Regions from separate parts of the Homo sapiens genome. Here all the other regions are linked to region 3. The links are contacts of gene promoters, found by promoter capture Hi-C in human tissues and cell types (Jung and others, 2019). All regions are on one chromosome and are shown on one strand. The core of a region is centred on a gene start or on the middle of the fragment in contact, and the rest is flanking DNA. Distances in the headings are between cores, read along the strand shown. Region 1 has its middle 4.1 kb from the start of SYDE1. Region 2 holds the start of OR7A17 (olfactory receptor family 7 subfamily A member 17). Region 3 holds the start of AP1M1 (adaptor related protein complex 1 subunit mu 1). Region 4 overlaps ZNF333 (zinc finger protein 333). Region 5 overlaps HACL2 (2-hydroxyacyl-CoA lyase 2). Region 6 holds the start of OR1I1 (olfactory receptor family 1 subfamily I member 1). Region 7 holds the start of DNAJB1 (DnaJ heat shock protein family (Hsp40) member B1).

Region 1 (3,609 bases), core at 729-3,228, 1.1 Mb after region 3:
TCTTGGGGTAGTCAGACTTCTTAGACAGCCACCCAGCCCTCTAAAAGTGAACAAGGAAGAAGTTGCATCTCTTCTGACCCAGCCTTGAGTGTCATGCTGTGTCACTTCTGCCACCAGATTCAAGGAAAGGGGGCACAGATTATACCTCTCTACATGGGAGGCATGTCAAGGTGACATTGTACAAGTGGATGTAGGGTGGGAGATATTGTGGCCATCTGGGAAAATATAACCTGTCTTAGCCCTACATTTCATTCTCCATATATTACCCACAGTGGACTTAAAACTGAAATCAGATTGTGGCACCATCCTGCTGAATAGTGTTCCTATGACTGCTCACCTCACCTAGAATAAAATTCAGATTCCCAGCATGGTCTCACAAGACTTCCAGCCTCATCTCTTTGGCTGTCCCATTCACTCACCATGGCCTCCTTTCTGGTTCTCCTTCATATCAAGCTATTTCTGCCTCAGGTCCTTTGCACACATGGTTCCTTCTGCCTGGGAAGCCCTGGTTCTTCTGAGGCCACCTCTCTCTCATCCTTTAGGTCCAATGGCACCTTCTAGGGAGACCCTTTCTGTCCACCACCTCTGTCTAGTCAGTATCACATTACTCAGTTTCCTTTCTTCTAACACTTGCCACAACTTGAATTTAACAGTCCCAGTGGTTTGTTCTAGTTTATCTGCCTCCTCGTCCAGACTGGGTCTCCACCAAGTGATCAAGTGATGCTTGTCTATGTTGTTCACTGCTGAATATTCAGGTAGGAGATCAGGTGTCAGGTGATGGAGGTCTGTATAGGAGGGGGTGTCCAAGAGGCCTGGACGAGGAGGCTGTGTGTGTTTGGTTTTAATGTGTCTTTGTGTGGTTCTCTGTGTTTATTGTACTTGGAGTTTGTTGAGCTTTGTGGATATGTAGATTCATGTCTTTCATCAATTCTGGGCTTCTGGGAAGTTTTTTGGCCATTATTTCATCAAATATTATTATTATTATTTTTTGAGATGGAGTCTCACTCTGTTGCCCAGGCTGGAGTGCAGAGGCATGGTCTTGGCTCACTGCAACCTCTGCTTTCTGGGTTCAAGTGATTCTCCTGCCTCAACCTCTCAAGTAGGTGGGGTTACAGGTGCCTGTCACCATGCCCAGCTAATTTTTGTATTTTTAGTAGAGATGGGTTTTCGTCATGTTGGCCAGGCCGGTCTCAAATTTCTGACCTTAAGTGATCTGCCCACCTTGGCCTCCCAAAGTGCTGGGATTATAGGCATGAACCACCATACCCAGCCTCATCAAATATTCTTTCTGCTCCTTTCACTTCTCTCCTTCTGGGACTCTCATTATGCATATATTGGTATACTCATTATACAACTGTTGATATACAGTTCTCCTAGGTGCTGTTCACTTTTCTTGGATATGTGTGTTTGGGGGGCATCAGTCTGTAAAAGGGTGGAGTGCACCCTCCTCCCTATGAGATCCCTGCGCAGATGTCTTTGAGGCAGCTATTGACAATGGGGAAAGAAGTCAGGGGTCAAGACAATACCTGTTTACAAGTTGAGGGTAGAGGCTGCAGGACTAAGGTCCCAATGGGGTATTTCAGAGTCTCAGAGGAGCTGGGGTCTGACATGGGAGTGAGAGCAACCCTTAGCCCCACCCATATGACACCCACATACCACATAAATATTTATTATTATTATTTTGTGTAAATCTTTTTGAGTTTTTGTACTTTTCCTGTTGTCTTTATTTGCCTGCATGTAGCCTATTTAATTCACCATTGGCTCTGATTCTTTCTTAGCAATCAGAAATTTCCATAAGTGAGAACAGATTATCTGCAAATTGTATGTAATGAAATGGTTATGAATTCTAAGTTTCATAATGATGTTTGTATGCTTATTCCTGTGGATTTTGCTAGTTGCTGTACAGATTTTAGAGCCTGTATGCGTACATTTTCTTTTCTTTTCTTTTATAGAGACATAGTCTTGCTTTGTTGCCCAGGCTGGAGTGCAGTGGCACGATCTTGGCTTACTGCAACCTGTGACTCCCTGGTTTAAGCGATGCTGCTGCCTCAGCCTCCTGAGTAGCTGGGATTACAGGCACACACCACCACGTGCAGCTAATTTTTATATTTTTAGTAGAGATGGGGTTTCACCATGTTGGCCAGGATGGTCTCGATTTCCTGACCTTGTGATCCATCCACCTTGGCCTCCCAAAGAGCTGAGATTACAGGGGTCAGCCACCGTGCCTGGCCCATTTTCTTTTCTTTTAAAAAAATTTATTTTCATGGCCGGGCACTGTGGCTCATGCCTGTAATCCCAGCACTTTGGGAGGCTGAGGCGGGTGGATCACGAGGTCAGGAGTTCAAGACTAGCCTGGCCAAGATGGTGAAACCCCGTTTCTACTAAAAATATAAAAATTAGCTAGGCATGGTGGCAGGCACCTGTAATCCCAGCTACTCGGGAGGCTGAGGCAGGGGAATCGCTTGAACCCAGAGGGTAGAGGTTGGAGTGAGCCAAGATCGTGCCACTGCACTCCAGCCTGGGTGACTAAGACTCTGTCTCAAATTTTTTAAAAATTATTTTCATGTTATTTTTATTTACTTTATTATTATTATTTTATTTATTTTTCTTGCTCTGTTGCTCAGGCTGTAGTGCAGTGGCACTACCACAACTCACTGCACCCTCAACCTCCTAGGCTCAAGTGATGTTCCTGCCTCAGCCTCCCAAGCAACTGGAACTACAGGCATGTGCCACCATGCCACAGGCTGATTTTTCTATTTTTTTGTGGAGATAGGGTCTCATCATGTTGCCTAGACTGTTCTCAAACTTCTGGGCTCAAGTGATCTTCCCACTTTGGCCCCCCAAGTGGCTGGGATTACAGGTGTGAGCCACCGTGCTTGGCCTTATTATTTTTAGAGACATAATCTCCCTCTGTCACCCAAGCTGGTGTGCATTGGTGTGATCATAGCTCACTGCAGACTTGAACTTCTGGGTTCAAGCAATCCTCTTGCCTCAGCCTCCTGAGTGGCTAGGCCTATAGGCATGCACTGCCATACCCAGCTAGCTTTTAAATTTTTTTTGTAGAGACAGGATCTTGCTATGTTGCCCAGGCTGGTCTCAAACTCCTGACCTCAAGCGATCCTTCTTCCTTGGCCTCTCAAAGTGCTGGGATTACAGGTGTGAGCCACTGCACCTGGCCACGTGTGTGTTTTCTTTCCCCTAAATGTTCTCATTGGCTGCAGGTCTGATGTGCTGTGCTTTTGGTACCTGGTGGATTAACCAGCCCCAGACACATATAGACCAATTAGTTGAAAGACCAAAAGACCATTTCCTGTCAGTTTTGGGCAGAGCTCAGCACCTCTGTGGTAGTCAAGGGGAATTGATGGATAAATACCCCAGCTCCCTCACCCTTGTGTTGGATGATTGAGGTTCATGTTCTACACTGACCCCTAGTGTTCACCCACGGGATTGAGCTCCAGCTGTCCACTGTAGAAACCTGGTTATCAATACACTCTTTGCTGACTTCCTTCCCTTCCCTCTCCCACATATCCACCCCACTTACAGTATTTCCTGTTTATTTCCTAAATACTTGAATCCTTGTCTCAAGGTTGGCTTCTGGTGGACTCCAAA
Region 2 (3,607 bases), core at 303-2,802, 1.3 Mb after region 3:
AGCCATAAAAAGGAACAAGTTCATGTCTTTTGCAGGAACGTGGATGAAGCTGGAAGCCATTACCCTCAGCAAACTAACGCAGAAACAGAAAATCAAATACCACATGCACTCACTTATAAGTGGGACCTGATCAATGAGAACATATAGACATAAGGAGGGGAACAACACACACTGAGCCCTGTTGGGGGGTGGGGTGGGGGGGAGGGAGAACCTTAGGAAAACTAGCTAATGCCTGTGGGGCTTAATACCTAGGTGATGGATTGATAGGTGCAGCAAACCACCATGGCACACGTTTACCTATGTAGCAAACCTGCACATCCTGCATATGTACCCCAGAACATAAAATAAAATAAAAGGAGTCTAAACATTTTTAATGTGAATTTTTGGAGCCAGGCAGAGGAGGACAGAGAAGATGTCCCTGAGTATAATAAAGCAGACGTGGAAGGACACTCATGCAATCTCCTCCCCGTGTGGACCCCTGGAAGCAGGTGTCCCTTCATGATCACAAATTTCTGTCTCCGAGAAGCAAGGCATGTCCTTTCCCAAGAAACTTTTCCAGAATCACAAACTTTTCCTACTCTTTGCAGGGATGAATGTATTTCTGCAGACTGTGATGGCCTATGACCACTTTGTGGCCATCTGTCACCCCCTGCACTACAGGGTCATCATGAATCCTGGGATCTTTGGACTGTGGGTTCTGGTGTCCTGGAGCATGAGTGCCCTGAATTCCTCACTGCAAAGCAGAATGTGTTGCAGCTGTCCTTCTGCACAAACTTGGAAATCCCCCCATTTTTTTCTGTGAACTTAATCAGTTGATCCTGCTTGCCTGTTCTAACACTTTTTTTTTTTTTTTTAGTGAGATGGAGTTTTGTTCTTATTACCCAGGCTGGAGAGAAATGGCGCCATATTGGCTCACTGCAACCTCCACCTCCCGGGTTCAAGCAATTCTCCTGCCTCAGCCTCCTGCATAGCTGGGATTACAGGCAACTGCCACCACACCCGGCTAATGTTTTTGCACTCCAGCTCAGGTGATACAACAAGACTCCATCTCAAAAAAATATATATATGAAATTCTAATGTTTTGGCAAAAGCAACATGAAGCCAAGAAATGTAGTACCCATGGTTTTATATGAACAGAACACAGTTCATCTCCTTGCAAAGGTAAATTGCCATTTTCTGGATATGTCAAGAGCTGAGTTTCCATCACAAGCCAGTGCTTTGGAGACTCAAGGGACCTAGTCAAGACAGGTTCCTCAGTTTAGACTTTGGAGGAAATTTTCACTGAAGGCTGGGAGAAGGTGCTAGGAGAATGGGACTCTGGAAGCCAAGGAAGTCCACGGGGAAGGAGTAATAAAGCCTGGATACACCTCACTTTTAACATAGTGTCTTGGGAATAGACGATACAGAAAAAAAAAACAACAATGACATTTGTTTCAGTGCAGGGCAACGTCCCCCAGGAAACTGATGTGTTCAGAGTTGGAATAACAGGAGGAAAGGTATCTAATCAGCAGATATACGAAGCCATAAATATCTCCTCTGCTGCAGTCCCTCAGCATATGCAACCTTGGGCTGGAAATGACATGGTGGTTTCATTTGGAGTCCTTAGTCTGGCTCAAGTATAGATGATGCTTCAACTTTTCCTGATGCCTTGTCTTGAGACAGAGATTCCATCTCCACCATCAACCTGCTAGAGAGGAATTTACACTTCTCCATGGAGACCTTCCTTTCAGAAAACTCAGTAGGGTAAGTCCCAGAGCCCAGTGGGTACTGTAGGAAAGGTCAGGAAGAACAAGAGCCGTGAATATTAACCTGAGGTCACCTGAGAGCCAATCATTTCCTCCAGCTTTGTTCCTTTTGCTTAGAAATGTCTTGGCTATACGGGCTATTTTTTGGTTCTATATGAAATTTAAAGTAGTTTTTGTAACTCTGTAAAGAAAGTCAATGTTAGCTTGATGGGGATAGCATTGAATCTATAAATTACTTTGGGCAGTATGGCCATTTTCAAGATATTGATTCTTCCTTTCCATGAGCATGGAATGTTTTTCCATTTGTTTGTGTCCTCTCTTATTTCCTTGAGCTGTGGTTTGTAGTTCTCCTTGAAGAAGTCCTTCACATCCCTTGTAGGTTATATTCCTAGGTATTTTATTCTCTTTGTAGCAATTGTGAATGGGAGTTCACTCATGATTTGGCTCTCTGTCTATTATTGCTGTATAGGAATGCTTGTGATTTTTGCACATTGATTTTGTATCCTGAGATTTTGCTGAAGTTGCTTATCAGCTTAAGGAGATTTTGGGCTGAGACGATGGGGTTTCCTAAATATACAATCATGTCATCTGCAAACAGAGACAATTTGACTTCCTCTCTTTGTATTTGAATACCCTTTACTTCCTTCTCTTGCCTGATTGCCCTGGCCAGAACTTCCAACACTATGTTGAATAGGAGTGGTGAGAGAGGGCACACTTGTCTTGTGCCAGTTTTCAAAGGGAATGCTTCCAGCTTTTGCCTATTCAGTATGATATTGGCTGTGGGTATGTCATAAATAGCTCTGATTATTTTGAGTTATGTTCCATCAATACCTAGTTTACTGAGAGTTTTTAGCATGAAGGGGAGTTGAATTTTATCGGAGGACTTTTCTGCATCTATTGAGATAATCATGTAGTTTTTGTCATTGGTTCTATTTATGTGATGGATTACATTTATTGATTTGCATATGTTGAACCAGCCTGGCATCCCAGGGATGAAGCCGACTTGATGATGCTGGATAAGCTTTTTGATGTGCTGCTGGATTCAGTTTGCCAGTATTTTACTGAGGATTTTCACATTGATGTTCATCAGGGATATTGGCCTGAAATTTTCTCTTTTTTTGTTGTGTCTCTGCCAGGTTTTGGTATCAGGATGATGCTGGCCTCATAAATTGAGCTGGGGAGGAGTCCCTCTTTTTCCATTGTTTGAAATCGTTTCAGAAGGAGTGATACCAGGTCCTCTCTGTACCTCCGGCAGAATTCAGCTGTGAAACTGACTGGTCCTGGGCCTCTTTTTGGTTGGTAGGCTATTAATTACTGCCTCAATTTCAGAACTTGTTATTGGTCTATTTAGGGATTTGACTTCTTCCTGGTTTAGTCTTGAGAGGGTGTATGTGTCCAGGAATTTATCCATTTCTTCTAGATTTTCTAGCTTATTTGCATAGAGGTGTTTATAGTATTCTCTGATGGGAGTTTGTATTTCTTTGGGATCGTTAACTTTTTTGGTTTACTTTTTAGAGCCTGGTTCTCACTATGATGCCCCGGCTGTTCTCAAAATCCTGGCTTCAGGTGACCTCCCTACTCAGCCTCCCAAAGCACTGGGATTACAGCTGTGATCCAATTATATTGCCCTCCTCATTGACTGTTAATGAAATATTTAAGGAAACATTTTTGGTCATAAAAAGTTTTAACTTTTATTTACCTAAAAATATGTCTACTTTCTTAGTTTTTTTTCTTGCGTTAGTTAAAATACTTTGTCTACACTAAGATCTTATATGTAGTTATCTATGTATTCGTCTAACATATATTGCTGACTTTTACACTGAGGTCTTTAAATCTGCTAATTCTTTGTAAAATGTGAGTCG
Region 3 (3,675 bases), core at 691-3,190:
AGCAAGCCAAGACAGGCAGCCCACTGGCACCTCTGGGGAGGCAGTGGCCAGGGTGGAAGCAAGACTCATTCCACCAGGACTCATTCCACCGCACCACCCAGCCCCTGGCGTGCTCTAAGACGGGTGTCTTCCCTCCTTCCAAGAAGGCGGGGGAGGGAAGCCCAGCACTGGGTCTCACCAGTTGTTGACTTTGGGTGGCTTCCAGAGCAGGCACCCACTCAAGGGACTTCAGGAAAGTGCTGGGGGTGGGGTGGGGCGGGAAGGGGCAGCCATTTCACCTCTTCACTCTCAGCTGCTTTAGGGCTCACCCCTGCCCGCCTCACCTAGGACCTGACACCCATGTTTGTTTCTCTCACTGATCAATGTTGGGCTTCACATTGTTGGACCGGTTCTTGTTGCTTCCACATGCAACAGGCCAGGCAGCCACCTGCCTTGCACCTGGGATGGACTTAGGAGAAGGCAGAGGACCATTTCTAAAAGGTGGGGACAATCCCTTCTTAAAGTTTTCTCAGATCCTCTGGGGAAGATGCCTGGGTTCTAGTTTATGTCCAGCTCCCTGGTGTCTCTGGTCCATTTGTCACCCCTCCTCAGGGAAACCCTCTCTCATCCTCGGGCTGAGGCTGACTGTCTGTATAACACACTCGCCCCTCAACACCACTGCAATTGACATTTATTTGTGTTTTTGGAGATGGGTATCCATCTCCCCTACCAGCCTGTGAACACCGTAAGAACACAGATTGTTGAGCCCTGGCACATGACTCACACCTGTAATCCCAGCACTTTGGGAGGCTAAGACAGGTGGATCACTCGAGGTCAAGAGTTCGAGACCAGCCTGGTCAACATGGTGAAACCCTGCCTCTACTAAAAATACAAAATTTAGCTCGGCGTAGTGGCAGGTGCCTGTAATCCCAGCTACTTGGGAGGCTGAGGCAGGAAAATTGCTTGAACCCGGGAGGCGGAGGTTGCAGTGAGTGGAGATTGCACCACTACACTCCAGACTGGACGACTGAGCATGACACTATCTCAAAAACAAAACAAAAAAAAAGGGACTGTTTTTTGCTAAACACAAATCGACCCCAGGCTTAGTACCCTGCCCGGCATTAGTAGGTGCTCCCCAGATATCAGCTGAATAAACGAATGATTCTGGATCGGACTCCTAGACTTGCTACTTCTCTGTGACCATTGTGACCTTGGTCAGGTTGCTTCACCTCTCCATGCCTCAGTTTCTCCCTCTATAAAACGGCACTCGTGATCACCACTCACCTCACCTAATCCTTGTAACTCACTATCACAATGAACGTGGAGAAATTCCTACTGAGAGAAAGTGCACGATAAACAGAAGCTGTAACGCCCTGAGAAGGCGGGACTGGCTCGAGAGCACCCAGTCCCCGCCACGCCTCGCCACCCCCGGCCAAGGGTCGCGCAGCCCCTGGACGCCCTGCCTGGCTCCGAGGCCGGCTGCGGCCCCGCTTCTGGGTCCTCCACCGAGGCCCGAGCCCCCGGCCCCGGCGCCGGGGAGCAGAGGGCGGTGCAGTCAGTTACCTGGCAACGCGGTGGCTGCAGCCCACCGCGTTACGTAGCAACAGGGCGGGGATTACCCACTTAAGACCCCCGCCCGGTTACCCAGAAACAGGATGGGGCTCTCAGGTGAGGTCTACCGGCCTCTCTGCCTCACACCAGGATGGGGCTCATAAGCCGGTTACCTAGCAACAGGGTGGGTCCCCGCGGGCGGAGGCCCCTGCCGGTTGCCTGGCAACAGGGAGGGTGGGGAGCCCTCAGTACCTTGCCCTTCAGGTCCAGCACGTAGACGGCGCTGGCGGACATGATGGCTGCAGGAGGCCTCGGCAGCGGCCGAGGGCGGTGGCGGCGGCAGCGACGGTGGGGACTGCTGGGCGTTGAGCAAGGCCGGGCGCCGCCCGCGACAGCTCACCTCCACTTCCGGTTCGGGGAGCCGCGCGGGGACCGTTATGTCCGGTCCGGGAGGTGCTGTCAGGAATGCGCAGGCGCAGGACGGACTGTGCGCAGGCGCATTACGTCGTATGTAACCATGTTTCTTGCTCCCGCCAGAAGCATCCCGGAAGTAAGGCCCGGTGGGGCGGGGCCGACCAAATCAGGGCACCCAGTGGCCGCTGCCAGGCTGAGCTATGGAGCCAGAGCAGCTGGAAACGGCCTCCCGTGGGCCGAGTTAGGCGAGAGAGCCTGGTGGTGAAACCGACCTGGGGCCCAGCCCTATGGAGCTCACAGTCTGGTGGGGAAGTCTATGAAACAAGTGTACAGTCACCAATTGTGATAAGCTCAAAAGAGAGAGGTAAGGTCGTGGTTACTTGGAAAGAGGTCAAACAAACTTTCTGAATGGCAATCAAACCTTATCAACAGTCACCACCTGTCATTGTCAACATTTATCAATGAATGAGTGTGCCTGTTTATTGCCTGGAATGTTATGAAAACCAGCCTCACTGAACCTTGACCCAACATACCGTGTTTCATTTCTGCAAAGTTAGTAATCAGTAATGCAACTGGTGGCCCTTGATTAATCCATTGAGTCATATTTAATTTGCTTTTATGAACTCTTGGGCTTTGGAGAAATGCCTGCATTCTGTTCCAGTTAGCCATCATAGTACCCTGGGGATCCCAACCCTGCAATACCAGAGTGATTTACCCAGGATGCCTGCCTCTCACATCTTTTATTTTCTGTCTTATCTCCGTTTTGGCGTTTGGAAAGATGATTTTTGCAACTCGGTAATTATATAGTGTTTTGCTTAGGAAAGAAATGTGACCGAAACTCTAGAGAAGCAAACTAGAATGTTTGAAGACTGCTAAGTGACTCCTGGGCTGGAAGGATTCTTGCTCAAGGCACAGAGCAAGCAGCCAAGAGAGGGTTTTTGTTGTTTGCTTTTTTTTTTTTTTTTTTTTTTGAGATGGAGTCTCACTCTGTCACCCAGGCTGGAGTGCAATGGCATGATCTCGGCTCACTGCAACCTCTGCCTCCTGGGTTCAAGTGATTCTCTTGTGTGTCAGCCTCTCAAGTGGCTGGGATTACAGGCATGTGCCACCACACCTAGCTAATTTTTGTATTTTTAGTAGAGACGTGGTTTCACCATGTTGGCCAGGCTTGTCTCAAACTCCTGACCTCACGTGATCCACCCACCTCGGCCTCCCAAAGTGCTGGGATTACAAGGGTTAAGTTAAATATTAAAAGATAAGAGAGCCAGTGCCCTTATACAAAGGCTGGGATGTAACAAAAGCCCACCCAGAGTTGTGCCTAGGCCTTTCCTGGGCCTTGAAGCATGACAAGATAATGAAGGAATTCTTAACAGGACCCTTTTAGGATTAAACAAGCTTTATTGGCGGTCTGAAGAAACTCCTCAGGCCTCCACAAACAAGTTTATTGGGGTTTGAAGGAACTCCCCCAAACCTCCATGATTTAGCAGGAGATAAGATAAGGGTAATCACCCCAGCACCTGGACCCACTTAGATTAAGTAAATTTACTGAGGCTCCAGAGGAAGGTCTTCAGGACTCAGATCTTAGTTATGGGTTAAAAGACTATAACTTACTTACGTCTTTAGATGAATGCACACCTACACGTAGACATATAGCTTAGAAGGTATATGAGCTCTGGAAGACTTTGTAATTTTGGGTTGGTCTGGTGATATTTTCCAGGCCTTCTCCCTGTA
Region 4 (3,342 bases), core at 13-2,512, 1.5 Mb after region 3:
CCGTATTTTGGAAGCAGATCACTTGCTTTCTGATTTCTCACAGGTTCGCAGATGGAGAGGAATTTTGCCCCACAATGGACCACACTCTGAGTCTCCCTCATACCTGCTGTAGATGACTGACATGAAGAGTTGTGGGATTCTCATCAGATGAGATGAAACTTTGAGTTGATGGTGCTTAGATGAGATTTTGCACTTAGAGTTGACGCTGGAATGGATTAAAACTTTGGGACCACGTGAGTGTATTTTGCATGTGGAAAGGACATGAATTTGGGGGGACTAGAGAACAGACTGCTATGGTTTGAACTGTGAACCCCCCAAAAAAGAGAAGTCCTAACCCCCAGTACTTCAAAATGTGACCTTATTTGGAAATAGGATTGTTGCAGATGTAATGAGTTGAGACGACAGGAGAATAGGGTAGGCCCTTAATCCAATATGATGGTTCTCCTAACAGAAGAGACAGAGACAGATACACAGAGGTGACACAGCCATGAGGCAACACAGGCAGAGACGGGAGGGCTGCATCCACAAGCCAAGGAGCACCAAGGGCTGCAGGCCACTGTTAGAAAGCAGGTGGCAGGATCCTCCCCCCCGAGCCATCAGAGGGAGCACGGCCCTGTCGACACCTTAATTTCGGACTTTTGGTATCCTAAATTGTGAAAGAGAAATTTCTGTTACAAAAAAACTAGGCCAGGCACAGTGGCTCACACCTGTAATCCCAGCACTTTGGGAGGCAGAGGCCAGCATTATCATTTGAGGTCAGGAGTTTGAGACCAGCCTGGCCAACATGACGAAACCCCGTCTCTACTAAAAATACAAAAATTAGCTGGGCGTGGTGGCACACATCTGTAGTCCCAGCCACTCGGGAGGCTGAGGCACGAGAATCACGTGAACCTAGGAGATGGAGTTTGCAGTGAGCCAAGATTGCACCACTGCACTCCAGCCTGGGCAACGGAGCAAGACTATGTCTTAAAAAAAAAAAACACTCATCACCGTCCTCCCAAAGCCTGCTCTCCCTAACCATGTCCTCAATCTCAGGAAGTGCTGCCCCTGTCTTTGATCAGAAATCTCACCCCTCTCTGACACTCTACAGATCCCAGCAACTAATCAGAATAAATAGTGATGACGTCTCTACATGGCGGTACTCACCCCCAAGCCCCTCTCCCACCCATTCCCGCTACAGCCAACACCTACATAGAGCCTTTTCTTTTTGGATCCACTGAAACGTCGCCCTCAGAGTGCCCCATCCTGAGGTCTCCTCCCCTGTAGAAAGAGCCCCTTCTCTCCTTTTCTCTGATAGGACCCCTTCCCTTTCTTCGCAGCCCTTACCCATCTGTAACCAGCTATGTATTGCTGCCATGAGTGTTTCTTTTCTGTCATCCTCACTGGATTGGAAGCTTTGTAAGAATAAGCCTGGGTGCCTTTCACCATCCTGTCCCCGATACCTTACTTGGCACAAAAATGCTCCATGTCATTGGTAAATGAATACATGAACCACCAAATCAACTCAACCTCCTCAATATAAATGTTTTATATGCATTATTACTATAATTTTTTTGAGACAGGGTCTTGCTCTCTCACCCAGGCTGGACTAGCTCACTGCAGCCTTCAATTCCTGGGCTCAAGTGATTCTCCCTCCTCAGCCTCCTGAGTAGCGAGACCACAGGTGCACACAACCATGCCTGGCTAATTTTCTTATTTTGTAGAGATGGGGTCTCGCTATGTTGCCCAGGCTGGTCTCCAACTCCTGGCCTCAAGAAGTCCTCCCACCTCAGCCTCCCAAAGTGCTGGCCTCTATGTGTTTTAAATCATTCCTCACTTCCCTACTGTGCAGAAAGGCGTTAACCCAGCAGGCCTGGATGGGCTCCTTAATGAGATGTGTTTGCAAGGTTGGCCCTTGGGTGGAGTCTGGGAACTTGGATTTCAGGAAGGTTCCCGCCCCCCTAACTGGTAAGAGAAACTCGCTCCACTTAAACTGCTTGTACAAACAATGCAGTTTATGTTGAACACCTGCTTTCCTTCTGAAAGTCTGGAATTTAGGGACTGTTTGTTTCCTCCAAAACTCACACCAAAACGTTAATCCCCAGTGTCGGAGGCGGGACTTGGGGGCAGATCCCTCAAGAATTGATTAACGCTCTCCCTCAGAGAGAAGGAGTACTCTTCTACTACTTTCCAAGGAAGCTGGTTGTTAAAAAGAGCCTGGCACCTTTCCCCCTTCCCTTCCCTTCCCTCCCCCACTGCCCCCGCTCCTGCTTCCTCCCTCACCATGTGATCTCCGCACACTGGCTTCCCTTCCCCTTCTGACCTAAGTGGAAGCAGCCTGAGGCCCTCGCCAGGAGCAGATGTTGGTGCCGTGCTTCTTGTACAGCCCACAGAACCATGAGTCAGATACACTTCTTTTATTTACTTTTATTTATTTTTTTATTTTTTAAGAAGGAAATCTCACTCTGTCGCCCAGGCTGGAGTGCAGTGGCGCAATCTTGGTTCACTGCAACCTCCGCCTTCCGGGTTCAAGCAATTCTCCTGCCTCAACCTCCCAAGTAGCTGGGATTACAGACATGCACCACCATGCTCGGCTAATTTTTACATTTTTAGTAGAGACAGGGTTTCGCCATGTTGGCCAGGCTGGTCTCAAACTCCCAGCCTCAAGTGATCTACCCACCTTGGCCTCCCAAAGTGCTGGGATTACAGGCATGAGCCACCACACCTGGCACCCCCTTTGCTGATTCTGCTTCATATCCACTTCTGGTAATAAATCACAGCCACGAGTACGACATCTCCTGTGAGTCCTCCTAGTGGATCATCAAGACTGGGGTGGTCTTGGGGGAACCCAGCACACCTCCTCCACACTCAACCCCCAAGTCTAGACCAGCACCATTCTACTCCTAATGGCCTCCACCTACCACTGCTTTCCTCCCTGAGCCCACGCTCCTCACAGGTGGGCTGGGGGGTGCGGTTCTGTTAAAACCACAGGTGCATTGCACCACTCACCTAAACACGTCACTGGCTCCCAGCGGGCTTAGAACATGGGCCAAGGTTCTTTTCCTGCACTTCCAAGCCCTGAACAATCTGGAAGCTGCTTCTTCTTCAGTCAGCTCACACCACTCTCTCTCCACTTCTCCCTGCTGCCTTCACACCATCTTCCATGGGCCCTGGATGCAACCAGTTCTCTGCTCCATGGGGAATTTTATCAATGTTGTTCCTAAGCCTGATATCCTCTCTCCGAACCTCCTGACAGCCCAACAGCTGACCAAGCTAAATGTTATAGTATTTATCATGGTCTAGGTCAGGGTTTGACCCCCAGGGGACATTTGGCAATGTCTGGTGTTGAGCTGTCGAGCTGTC
Region 5 (3,250 bases), core at 412-2,911, 1.1 Mb after region 3:
GGCTCAGGACAGCCCTCCTCCTCCTCCTTTTCCCTTTCTTCTCCTCCTCCATCATCTCTTCTTCCTCCTCTTCCTCCTCCCTCTTCCTTCCTCTTCTCCTCCCTTTCCCCCACCACCTTTCCCATCGTCCTCTCCGTTTTCCTCCTCCTAAAGGATGATCCTTGAACCTCGGAAGGGAGGTTCATTCTTACATTTACAGAGGAGGAAGCTCAGAAAGGTGAAGTCACTTGCCCAAAGTCACACAGCTAAGAAGTGGCAGAGCCCAGGCCGGGTGCGGTGGCTCTCACTTGTAATCCCAGCACATTGGGAGGCCGAGGTGGGCAGATCACGAGGTCAGGAGATCGAGACCATCCTGGCTAACATGGTGAAACCCCATCTCTACTAAAAATACAAAAAAAAAAAAAATTAGCCGGGCGTGGTGGCGGGCGCCTGTAGTCCCAGCTACTTGGGAGGCTGCGGCAGGAGAATGGCGTGAACCCAGGAGGTGGAGCTTGCAGTGAGCCAAGATCGTGCTACTGCACTCCAGCCTGGGTGACAGAGCAAGACTCCGTCTCAAAAAAAAAAAAAAAAGTGGCAGAGCCCAGACTCGAGCCCTCTCCTTCCTCCTCCTTTCCTTCCCTCACATCTTTGTCCTTTTCTTTCTTTTTTTTTTTTTTTGAAACAGATTCTTCGTTCTGTTGCCTAGGCTTGAGTGCAGTGGCGTGATCTCGGCTCACTGCAACCTCCGCCTCCCCCTGGGTTCAAGTGATTTTCCTGCCTCAGCCTTCTGAGTAGCTGGGACTACAGGCGCCCGCCACCACACCTGGCTAATACTTGTATTTTTAGTAGAGACGAGGTTTCATCATGTTGGCCAGGCTGGTCTTGAACTCTTAACCTCAAGTGATCCACCCTCCTCGGCCTCTCAAACATTACAGACATGAGCCACTGCGCCTGGCCTCTTCTCTTCTTCTTCTTCCTTTCCTTTCTTCTCCTCCTCCTCTTCCTCTTCTTCCTCCTTCTCTCCCTTCCCCTCAGTCCCTTCCCTTTGCCTGTCCTTGGCCCTTCCTTTCCATACATTTAGCGAGCGGCAGCCATGTGCCAGGTTCCAGGACAGGCACGGGGCATCATCAGTGGACAAGGTAGTCAGGCTCCTGTACTCCGGATGTGTGTGAAGCGCCTGAGGGTCAGCTCAGGCAGTAGTGATTTTGTTCTATGGCCTCTTTATTTTTTTTGAGACGGAGTCTCGCTTTGTCCCCCAGGTTGGAGCGCAGTAGTGCGATCTTGGCTCACTGCAACCTCCACCTCCCGGGTTCAAGTGATTCTCCTGCCTCAGCCCCCGGAGTAGCTGGGAATACAGGTGCAGTCCACCATACCCAGCTAATTTTTGTATTTTTAGTAGAGATGAGGTTTCACCATTTTGGTCATATAGCCTCATTCTTAATGCACTTTGCCCCCTGGCTTCCCAGTCAGTCCCTCCCCTTGTTCTCCTTGCCCCTCTCTCTTGGGCTGCCTCTCACAAGGCTATCTCTTATCTTGCCTTTTTTGTTTTGTTTTGTTTTGAGACAGGGCCTCACTCTATCACCCAGGCTGGAGTGCAGTGGTATGATCATAGCTCACCACAGCCTTGAACTCCTGGCCTCGAGCAATCCTCCTGCCTCAGCCTCCCTTGCCTTTTCTTTACTTGCGGGGCTTCCCACGGTTCCATCCTGGGCTGCTTCTGTGCTGTCTTGGCCTGTCCTTAACGGTGAAAGCAGAGGCTTCTGACTCTGAGCTCCGACTGTTTCCTGCCAATGCCCATGTGTCTGTCTTTCGCTGGATAGAGCGCCCCCTGAGGGGAGGGCTGGGCAGGATCTATCTTTGTGTCTCCAGGGCCCTGCACAGGTCCTTCAGGAAAGTTGGGGCCCTGGGGCCCAGTGAGCAAGGAGACCGAGAAGACCCTGTTTGAAGCAGGAGAGGACAGTGTTCAGAACTCCCATGCAAAGCGCCTCATGTCCTAAGTGGACAGATCCTTGAACCTGGGGAGGGAGGTTCATATTTACATTGACAGAGGTGGAAGCTCAGAAGGGTGAAGTCACTTGCCCTAAGTTGCACAGCTAGGAAGTGACAGAGCCAGGACTTGAGCTCACATCTGTTGGACCCACAGGCTTAATCCTGGCATGCTGAGCCTGCGTTCCTTGCTTCTGGGGGGCTACGTGGAGTTGGGGTGGACCCCAGAGGCTACCGAGGGCAAACAGGCAGTTGAAGACCTGGCCACTAGGGTTCGTCTGTCCCTGAGGTGTCACTCATCCACCCTGTCCCCATGCCACTTTGCTCCTGGCTTTTCTCCCGGCCCCTTTCCTTGCTCAGATCCTGGAATCCTTGTAGTTAGTTAATTCTGGCAACTTGGTTTCTTCCCCCTCCCTTTTGCAGGTATTTAGAGAATTACCTGGCCAACCTCTTTGCAGGAGCCTGGGAGCCTCAGCCCGAGGGACCGCTGCCCCTGGACATCCCCCAGGCTTCCCCGCAGCAGGTGAATTGCCTCTCTTTTGTGTCTGAGGACCCTACCCTCTCCCTGAGGGGAGAGGGCCCCCTGACCCTCTCCCTGAGTCAGTACTGGGGCCTTAATCTTGGGTGCTCATGGCGACTCAAGGGCGGCCCTTTGGCTGGACGCGGTGGCTCACAGCAGCAATCCCAACACTTAGGGAGGCCGAGGCAGGCGGATCACTTGAGGCCAGGAGTTCAAGACTAGCCTGGCCAACATGGTGAAACCCTGTCTCTACTGAAAATACAAAAGTTAGCCAGGCATGGTGGCACGCGCCTGTAATCCCAGCTACTCTGGAGGCTGAGGCGGGAGAATCGTTTGAACCTGGGAGGTGGAGGCTGCAGTGAGCTGAGATCATGCCATTACACTCTATCCTGGGCAACAGAGTGAAACTGTGTCTCAAAAAAATAAATAAATAAAAAGACAGCCCTTTGATCCCCACCTCTCGCTCCAGGTTCAGCGCTGTGTGGAGATCCTGAGCCGGGCCAAGAGGCCTCTGATGGTGCTGGGGAGTCAGGCCCTGCTCACCCCAACGTCTGCCGACAAGCTTCGGTGAGAAGCGCCAGCCCTGCCCTTGTTTTCACGTTCCCAGTCCCCAGTCCTCGGGTGCTCTTGGGGAGGCGGGAGGCCCCGGCCACACTGACCTCTGCTCTGCCTGGACTCCCAGGGCTGCCGTGGAGACCTTGGGTGTTCCCTGCTTCCTTGGAGGGATGGCACGGGGGCTGTTAGGCCGCAACCACCCCCTCCACA
Region 6 (3,335 bases), core at 322-2,821, 1.1 Mb after region 3:
GGTCTTGAACTCCTGACCCGGTGATCCGCCCACCTTGGCCTCCCAAAGTACTGAGATTACAGGCGTGAGCCCAGTAATCTCATCATTTCAGCGCCCAGCCGATGAAAGGGGTTTTTAGGAAGGTTAGCAGCATAATCTCCTTGGTAACCCCAAGAGGCCTTCAGCAAAGCCCTATGTTAACTTTTTGAGGCTTTTTAGTGTTGGACTTGAGGTTTTTGCAATGCAATGCTTGGTTTTCTCTAGGCTGGATAGAATACTGCGATTCCCTTCCTGGCAACATATTTGTAACAGTCCTCAGTTGTTGACTTGGGTTGCATAGAGCAGCGGTTCTCAACCTTGAGCACGCTTCAGGGTCACCTGGAAGGCTTGTTAAAACACAAAAAGCGGGCCAGGCATGGTGGCTCACACCTGTAATCCCAGCACTTTGGGAGGCTGAAGTGGGAGAATTGCTTGAGGCCAGGAGTTCAAGACCAGCCTGGCAGACAAAGTGAGGCCACCCCACCCCCAATCCCGCCCTGGATCTACAAAAAATAAAACAATCTGCTGGGCATGGTGGCATGCTTCCATAGTCCCAGCTACTCAGAAGGCTGAGGTGGGAGAATCCCTTGAGTCCAGGAGTTAGAGACCAACCTGGGCAACACAGTGAGACCCCCATCTCTACAAAATAAAAAATTAGCTGGACATGGTGGCACACACCTGTTAGTCCCAGCTGCTTGGGGGGCCAAGGTAGGAGGATCTCTTGAGCCCGGGAGTGTGAGACCATCCTGGGCAACATAGGAAGATCCCTGCCTCTACGAAAATAAAATTAGCCAGGCATGGTGGTATATGTCTGTTATCCCAGGTACCCGGGAGGCTGAGGAGGGAGGATCACTTGAGCTTGGGAGGTCGAGGCTGCGATGAGCTATGATAATGCCACTGCACTCCAGACTGGGCAACAGAGCGAGACCCTGTCTCAAAAACAGAAAGAACAAACAAACAAACAAAACAATCCCCCCGCCCCCTCCCCCCCGCTCCCAAACTCATCATACACAAAAAGCTAAGCCCTTTCCCTGAAATGTCTGGTGTAAGAACCAGCACTTCTAGATAGTTTCCAGAGGATGCTGGTGCTTCTAGCCCAGGGACCACACTTGGGGAGCTGCTGCATTGGAGAAACTTGTTTCTCAAGACCTCTCCTATCTGTGCAGGTGTCCTGCAGCTGCAGACCCTCAGTGCTTTTCCTCCACATATCCTGCCACAGAGGGTCTGCCGTCTGCGTGCTTTGTCCACTCAGAGAGTCTAGACTTGGTCTCAGTCTCTTCTCTCTCTCTCGGCCTCTAGGAAGGAGACAGATTCCTCTCCCACAACCCTCCACCCCCACCCTCAGCTCAATCCTTTCCCCATCCCTCACCTGCTCACCAGGATGGCATCACCAAGGGGAGGGTCCCGGGAAGCCTCCTTCTCCACCAACTGCTAGAGGATCCCGAGGTCAGCACTAAACCCCTAGGAAGGGCATGGGGGCTACTCACCTGTGATCGCTGGGGTTAGCCTGATGTCTATGGGAAGGATTCATATGTGTACCCCCCCGCCCCCAGACTCTGCAGGTGAGTGGGGGAGCCAGGGGAACATCAGGGTATTTATAGTCTGGGGACTCTAGGAGACTTCGTCCCCATAGCTCCTTGTTAAGGAAGCGGATGCTAATTATTTTGTTTCTCCTCTGCCACATGTGACCTGTTCTTTTGGAGATGGGTGTGCTTTGGGATCATCGAGTGGGTAAGAAGAGGAAACAGTGACTAGGGATTCACTCTCACTAGGACATCTCCCTACGGTCTCCTTCCAGCTCAGGCTGAGCTTCATGGAAGCTCCCAGGCAGAGAGGTCTGGGGGGTCCCAGACTCCAGTCGGGCACTCAGATGCCTGAATCTGAGAGGTCCTTTCATTCATTGCATTATGGAAGAAACTGGCTCATTAAGGAAAGCTCCGAAGAGTATCAATCAATCAATAAATCGGTATTAAATAAATAAATTTATCAAACACTTTTTTTTGAGATGGAGTGTCACTCTTTCACCCAGCCTGGAGCACAGTGGAGCAATCTCGGCTCACTGCAACCTCCACCTCCTGGGTTCTAGCAATTCTCCCTCCTCAGCCTCTTGAGTAGCTGGAATTACTGGTGCCCACCACCATGCCCAGCTAGTCTTTGTATTTTTAGTAGAGACAGGGTTTCACCATGTTGGAAAGACTGATCTCAAACCTCAAGTGATCTGCTCTCCTCGGTCTCCCAAAGTGCTGGGATTACAGGCCTGAGCCACTGTACCCGGCCTATCAAACACTTCTTGATCACCTGCTTGGCACTGGAGTTGGACACGGTGGCTCATGCCTATAATCCTAGCTACTTGGGAGGCCAAGGTTGGAGAATCCCTTGAGCCTAGAAGTTTGAGACCAGCTTGGGCAAAACAGCAAGACCTTATATCTACAAAAAATTTAAAAAAATTAGCCAGGATTGGTGGCACATGCCCGTGGTCTCAGTTACCCAGGAGGCTGAGGTGGGAGGATCACTTGAGCCCTGGAGGTTGAGGCTGCAGTGAGCTGTGATCGCACCACTGCATTCCAACCTGGACAACGGAGTGAGACCCTGTCTCTTAAAAAAAAAATCCTTCCTATCAGCCACACAGAACGTGTGTAGGATACTTGTTGAAATTCTCCTAGGGGCTTTAGTAAATATTAGAATTACTTTCCCTAATAATATTGGCTGTTGGACTGTTGGCTCTTGGATCGTAACTCTGTGGGGAGGTCAGCTTCAAAGCAAGAACAAGGTAGACCAACTTCGCGTTGGACATATGGGGATATGAGTAGGTGCCAATCCCACTGTCATTATTTTTTTAAAATTAAAATTATTTTCAGAGGCTGGGCATGGTGGTTCACACCTGTAATCCTAGCACTTTGGGAGGCCGAGGCAGGTGGATCAATTTAGCTCAGGAGTTTGAGACCAGCCCGGCCAACATGGTGAAACCCTGTCTCTACTAAAAATACAAAATTAGCTGGACGTGCCTATAGTCCCAACTACTCAGGAGGCTGAGGTGGGAGGATCCCTTGAGCCCGGGAGGTGAAGTTTGCAGCAAGTTGAGATCATGCCACTGCACTCCAGCCTGGGTGACAGAGTGAGACCTTGTCTCAAAAAAAAAAAAAAAATCAATTTGAGCCCAAAGGTTGGGGAAAAACCCACCTAAAAAGTCCATAAGGTGGCCAGACATGGTGGCTCACACCTGTAATCCCAGCACTTTGGGAGGCTGAGGCGGGTGGATCACTTGAGGTCGGGAGTTCGAGACCAGCCTGGGAAAAATGGTGAAACCCAGTCTCTAC
Region 7 (3,552 bases), core at 652-3,151, 1.7 Mb after region 3:
CCCAGGGGCAGCTGTCACTGGAATCTTTTAGCTGCCAGGAATGAGGTGATGGCTGAAGAGCCCACCACTAAGAAAATGGTTAGTCACCCCTTTGACAATGCTTCCTTTGTGCCATGCCTGCTCTGAGCACTTTGCAAATGTTGACTCATATAAACTTCAAAGCCCTCATGATGTGGGCACAACTGCTATCCTCATTCCTCATTGTGCAGATGAGGAAGCTAAGGCCAGCAAAGGCCTAGTAACTAACCCAAGGTTACCCAGCCGGGAAATGCTGGAGCTGGGAATGAAGCCCAGCTGTCTGGTTCCAGAGCCAGTGTTACATGGCTCTGACCTCCCAGGCAGTTCTTCCAGGAACCTCCCCCACTTCCCTGGGCCCTTCCCAGGTGGAACCCCTTTCTGAGCCTCCTTTTCCCATCAGCTCTGTCCTTGACAGAGGCACCCCAGACTTTCAGAGCCAAACGCGATCGTGTTGCCTACAATTGAGGAAACAGAGGCCTTGAAAGGTGTGTGACACACCTATGTCCCCCCAAATTATAAAGGTAGTTGGGGAAGAAAAAGAAGCACGTGTGTAAGAACGGGGAATATTTATGAGGTTCTCACTGCGTTCCAGGCACTGGGGACCCAGTGCAGACAGGACCTGGCCCCTGCCCAGGTGGCGATGTCAGACTGGGAGGGAAGACACATTGAAAGCCAAGAGACAAGATAAATTTCAAATTTAGCGGCAAGTGATCTTGAGAGGGCAGTAAAGGGAAGAAGGCGGGACTGGGAGGACCTTGGGAGATGCGCTTCCGTCCAGATCCTCACCTTGCTTTAGGAGGTGAGAACAGAGGCAGTCTTCCGTCCCAAAATCCTTCTCCCCACGGTTGGGAGAATAGCGCTGGTGGGTTTTTTGTTCATTTTACTTTATTTTACTTATTTTATTTATTTATGAGACGGAGTCTCGCTCTGTTGCCGAGGCTGGAGTGCAACGGCCGGATCTCGGCTCACTGCAACCTCCGCCTCCCCGATTCAAGCTATTCTCAGGCCTCAATCTCCTGAGTAGCTGGGATTACAGGTTCGTGCCACCAACGCCCGGGTAATTTTTATATTTTTAGCAGAGATGGGGTTTCACCATGTTGGCCAGGCTGGTCTCGAACTCCTGACCTCAAGTGATCCGCCCGCCTCGGCCTCCCAAAATGCTGGGATTACAGGCGTGAGCCACCGCGCCCGGCCTGTTTGTTAATCTTAAATAGAAACGGAGTCTCCTTATGTTGCCTAGGCTGGTCTCCAACTCCTAGGCTCAAGAGATCCTCCTGTCTTGGCCTCAGGAAGTGATGGGATTACAGGCATGAGGCTCCGCGCCCGGCCTGATAGGTTCTCTTATTGCCATGTTGTAGATAGAAGGGGGCCCCTGGGTTAGGCAGACACAGGTTAGGTAGTTCGTCCGGCGTCACCGGGCGGGAGCCCACCGCAGGCCCCACGAGACAAGGGCGAGCAGGTTCATCGCCTCCCGGGGAAAGGACTGGGTAGTCCCAGGCCCCACCCCTTCCTGGAACAGCAAGTTCGCTGTGGGTCCCGACCTACTGACCCAGGCGGAGGGCGGGACGCAGGGTAGCTGGGGCCGCGTAGAGAGGGAAAGAAGGTCGCGATTGGCTCGTCCCGAAAGGTGGGCGGGGCCTCCTCCGACCTGTGCGCGCGCGCCGCGGGGAGGTGTTGCCGAGGGCGGAGCGGGAGGGGGCGTGGCCCCGCGCGGGCGGCCGTTGACGGCGAGGCCCCGCCCCGGATGTCGCGTGTCGCTGAAAGGGCGGCGGCGATTGGCCGGCGCCGCGGGGGCGGGCGGGGCGGAAGGTTCTGGAGGGGGCTGGCGGGCTCTGGAAGCTTCCGCCGGACGGGTATATAGAGTCCGGGACTGGTCGGCGGCGGAGCCGGGGGACGGCGACAGCGGGTCGGCGGGCCGCAGGAGGGGGTCATGGGTAAAGACTACTACCAGACGTTGGGCCTGGCCCGCGGCGCGTCGGACGAGGAGATCAAGCGGGCCTACCGCCGCCAGGCGCTGCGCTACCACCCGGACAAGAACAAGGAGCCCGGCGCCGAGGAGAAGTTCAAGGAGATCGCTGAGGCCTACGACGTGCTCAGCGACCCGCGCAAGCGCGAGATCTTCGACCGCTACGGGGAGGAAGGTGTGTGCTCGCGGCCAGGGGCGCGGCCCCGCCTTTTGACAGACAGGGAAACTGAGGCACGCTGGCCCCTCTCGGCGGCCCCCCGGGAAGGACGCCCCGGGCCGTGGGGCCGAGCTGCCCCGCCCTCCGGCCTCGCGGGCCTCCGCCCTCGGATTGGCGGCCGCGCGGTGGGAGGAGGAGCCTTGGCCCAGCCGCTCGGCCAGAAGCTTCTAGCATGTCTGGGGCTGCCCCTCCCCGGGCGCCTCCTCCCGCGGCCCCGAGCAGCCCCGGGGTGCGGTGCATGGGGGTGGGGGAGCCGGGGGTGACGACGGGGACGGCGCGGCGGAGCCCGCTGCGGACCCGGGCTCACCTGGGCTCGGCCGCCGGGGTCCGCGGGGCGGCGCCTCCGGCTCAGCTGCGGGGCGAGGGGTTGTGAATGCAGGAGCCGACCCCGTTCGTGGGCTTGGGGGCTGGGTTGGGATAATTCCCGGGAAGTGATGACCTGGCCCCGGCAGGGCACGCAGGAGGCAGCGGCCGCCCAGGTCCGGAGAGCGGGGCCGCCTCGGAGGGTAAGGAGAGCAGGGCTTTTTGTTCCTGTGCCCGTTGATGATTCAGGCTGGCTTCTGGGCTTGATCTGGAGCTGACTTTTTGTGCAAGGATGGTGGCAGTGAATGCTAATGTGTGAGGATTTAAAAACTCCCTATTTATTTTTGTTTTTTTTTTTCTTCTCTTCCTACGCACCATTAGCCCTAAAACGTTGAGAGTAAACACTTACCGAAAGCCGACCCTGGACCATGTGTCTTTAGCCATCTCTTGGTGATGTTGCCAGGAGGATGGGTCAGTCCAGGAGTGGCAGGGCCTAGGTGGCACCTGGAGGTGAACACCTAACCGCATGAGTCCTTTTCCACTGTCAGGCTACGCGGAAATACTGTTGGTAGGGGGGCGTCTCTGCTGTTGGCAGTGAGAGGTAGAAACTTGGGGTTCTTCCTTGCTCTCCCCTGACAGACAAAAAAGTTCCTCCCCCATGGCTTCCAAGCTGTTTCCCCCTGTAAGGGAAGCTCGAGAGAGAGTCTGCTGTTCAGCCATCTGACTGCTTCTAAATCTGCTTTTCAGGCCTAAAGGGGAGTGGCCCCAGTGGCGGTAGCGGCGGTGGTGCCAATGGTACCTCTTTCAGCTACACATTCCATGGAGACCCTCATGCCATGTTTGCTGAGTTCTTCGGTGGCAGAAATCCCTTTGACACCTTTTTTGGGCAGCGGAACGGGGAGGAAGGCATGGACATTGATGACCCATTCTCTGGCTTCCCTATGGGCATGGGTGGCTTCACCAACGTGAACTTTGGCCGCTCCCGCTCTGCCCAAGAGCCCGCCCGAAAGAAGCAAGATCCCCCAGTCACCCACGACCTTCGAGTCTC

The links. Contacts are between HindIII fragments. The study calls those that stand out against the background at their distance.
Region 1: a fragment that was not itself captured here is called in contact with the fragment with the promoter of AP1M1 in region 3 in 3 of the 25 tissues and cell types used here (IMR-90 fibroblasts, dorsolateral prefrontal cortex and heart left ventricle).
Region 2: a contact is called between the fragment with the promoter of OR7A17 here and the fragment with the promoter of AP1M1 in region 3, in 1 of the 25 tissues and cell types used here (H1 embryonic stem cells).
Region 4: a contact is called between a fragment that was not itself captured here and the fragment with the promoter of AP1M1 in region 3, in 1 of the 25 tissues and cell types used here (pancreas).
Region 5: a fragment that was not itself captured here is called in contact with the fragment with the promoter of AP1M1 in region 3 in 1 of the 25 tissues and cell types used here (dorsolateral prefrontal cortex).
Region 6: a contact is called between the fragment with the promoter of OR1I1 here and the fragment with the promoter of AP1M1 in region 3, in 4 of the 25 tissues and cell types used here (dorsolateral prefrontal cortex, lymphoblastoid cells, mesenchymal stem cells and 1 more).
Region 7: the fragment with the promoter of DNAJB1 here is called in contact with the fragment with the promoter of AP1M1 in region 3 in 1 of the 25 tissues and cell types used here (mesenchymal stem cells).

Annotation. Positions count from the first base shown.
Region 1 is chr19:15,101,493-15,105,101 of GRCh38, reverse strand. No RefSeq gene overlaps it. Among named protein-coding and RNA genes, the nearest start is that of SYDE1, 4.1 kb to the left of the region's middle. The HindIII fragment of the contact is 6,045 bases long and covers 1-3,609 here.
Region 2 is chr19:14,884,077-14,887,683 of GRCh38, reverse strand. OR7A17 (olfactory receptor family 7 subfamily A member 17) reads left to right here and starts at 1,552. Exons shown (of 3, transcript NM_030901.2): 1 at 1,552-1,743. It also overlaps the pseudogene OR7A18P. The HindIII fragment of the contact is 7,391 bases long and covers 1-3,607 here.
Region 3 is chr19:16,196,176-16,199,850 of GRCh38, reverse strand. It overlaps AP1M1 (adaptor related protein complex 1 subunit mu 1), which reads right to left and starts at 1,940. Exons shown (of 12, transcript NM_032493.4): 1 at 1,783-1,940. The coding sequence starts at 1,824. RefSeq lists a silencer at 1,557-1,796. The HindIII fragment of the contact is 7,648 bases long and covers 1-3,675 here.
Region 4 is chr19:14,709,864-14,713,205 of GRCh38, reverse strand. All of the region lies in intron 7 of ZNF333 (zinc finger protein 333), which reads right to left. Among named protein-coding and RNA genes, the nearest start is that of ZNF333, 21 kb to the right of the region's middle. The HindIII fragment of the contact is 7,816 bases long and covers 1-3,342 here.
Region 5 is chr19:15,119,220-15,122,469 of GRCh38, reverse strand. It overlaps HACL2 (2-hydroxyacyl-CoA lyase 2), which reads left to right. Exons shown (of 16, transcript NM_006844.5): 7 at 2,389-2,488; 8 at 2,955-3,052; 9 at 3,168-3,250. Among named protein-coding and RNA genes, the nearest start is that of ILVBL-AS1, 3.3 kb to the left of the region's middle. The HindIII fragment of the contact is 6,371 bases long and covers 1-3,250 here.
Region 6 is chr19:15,080,447-15,083,781 of GRCh38, reverse strand. It overlaps OR1I1 (olfactory receptor family 1 subfamily I member 1), which reads right to left and starts at 1,571. Exons shown (of 2, transcript NM_001004713.2): 1 at 1,506-1,571. The HindIII fragment of the contact is 16,029 bases long and covers 1-3,335 here.
Region 7 is chr19:14,516,746-14,520,297 of GRCh38, reverse strand. It overlaps DNAJB1 (DnaJ heat shock protein family (Hsp40) member B1), which reads left to right and starts at 1,901. Exons shown (of 3, transcript NM_006145.3): 1 at 1,901-2,159; 2 at 3,252-3,552. The coding sequence starts at 1,949. RefSeq lists an enhancer at 1-607 and silencers at 1,520-1,839, 2,050-2,619. The HindIII fragment of the contact is 14,493 bases long and covers 1-3,552 here.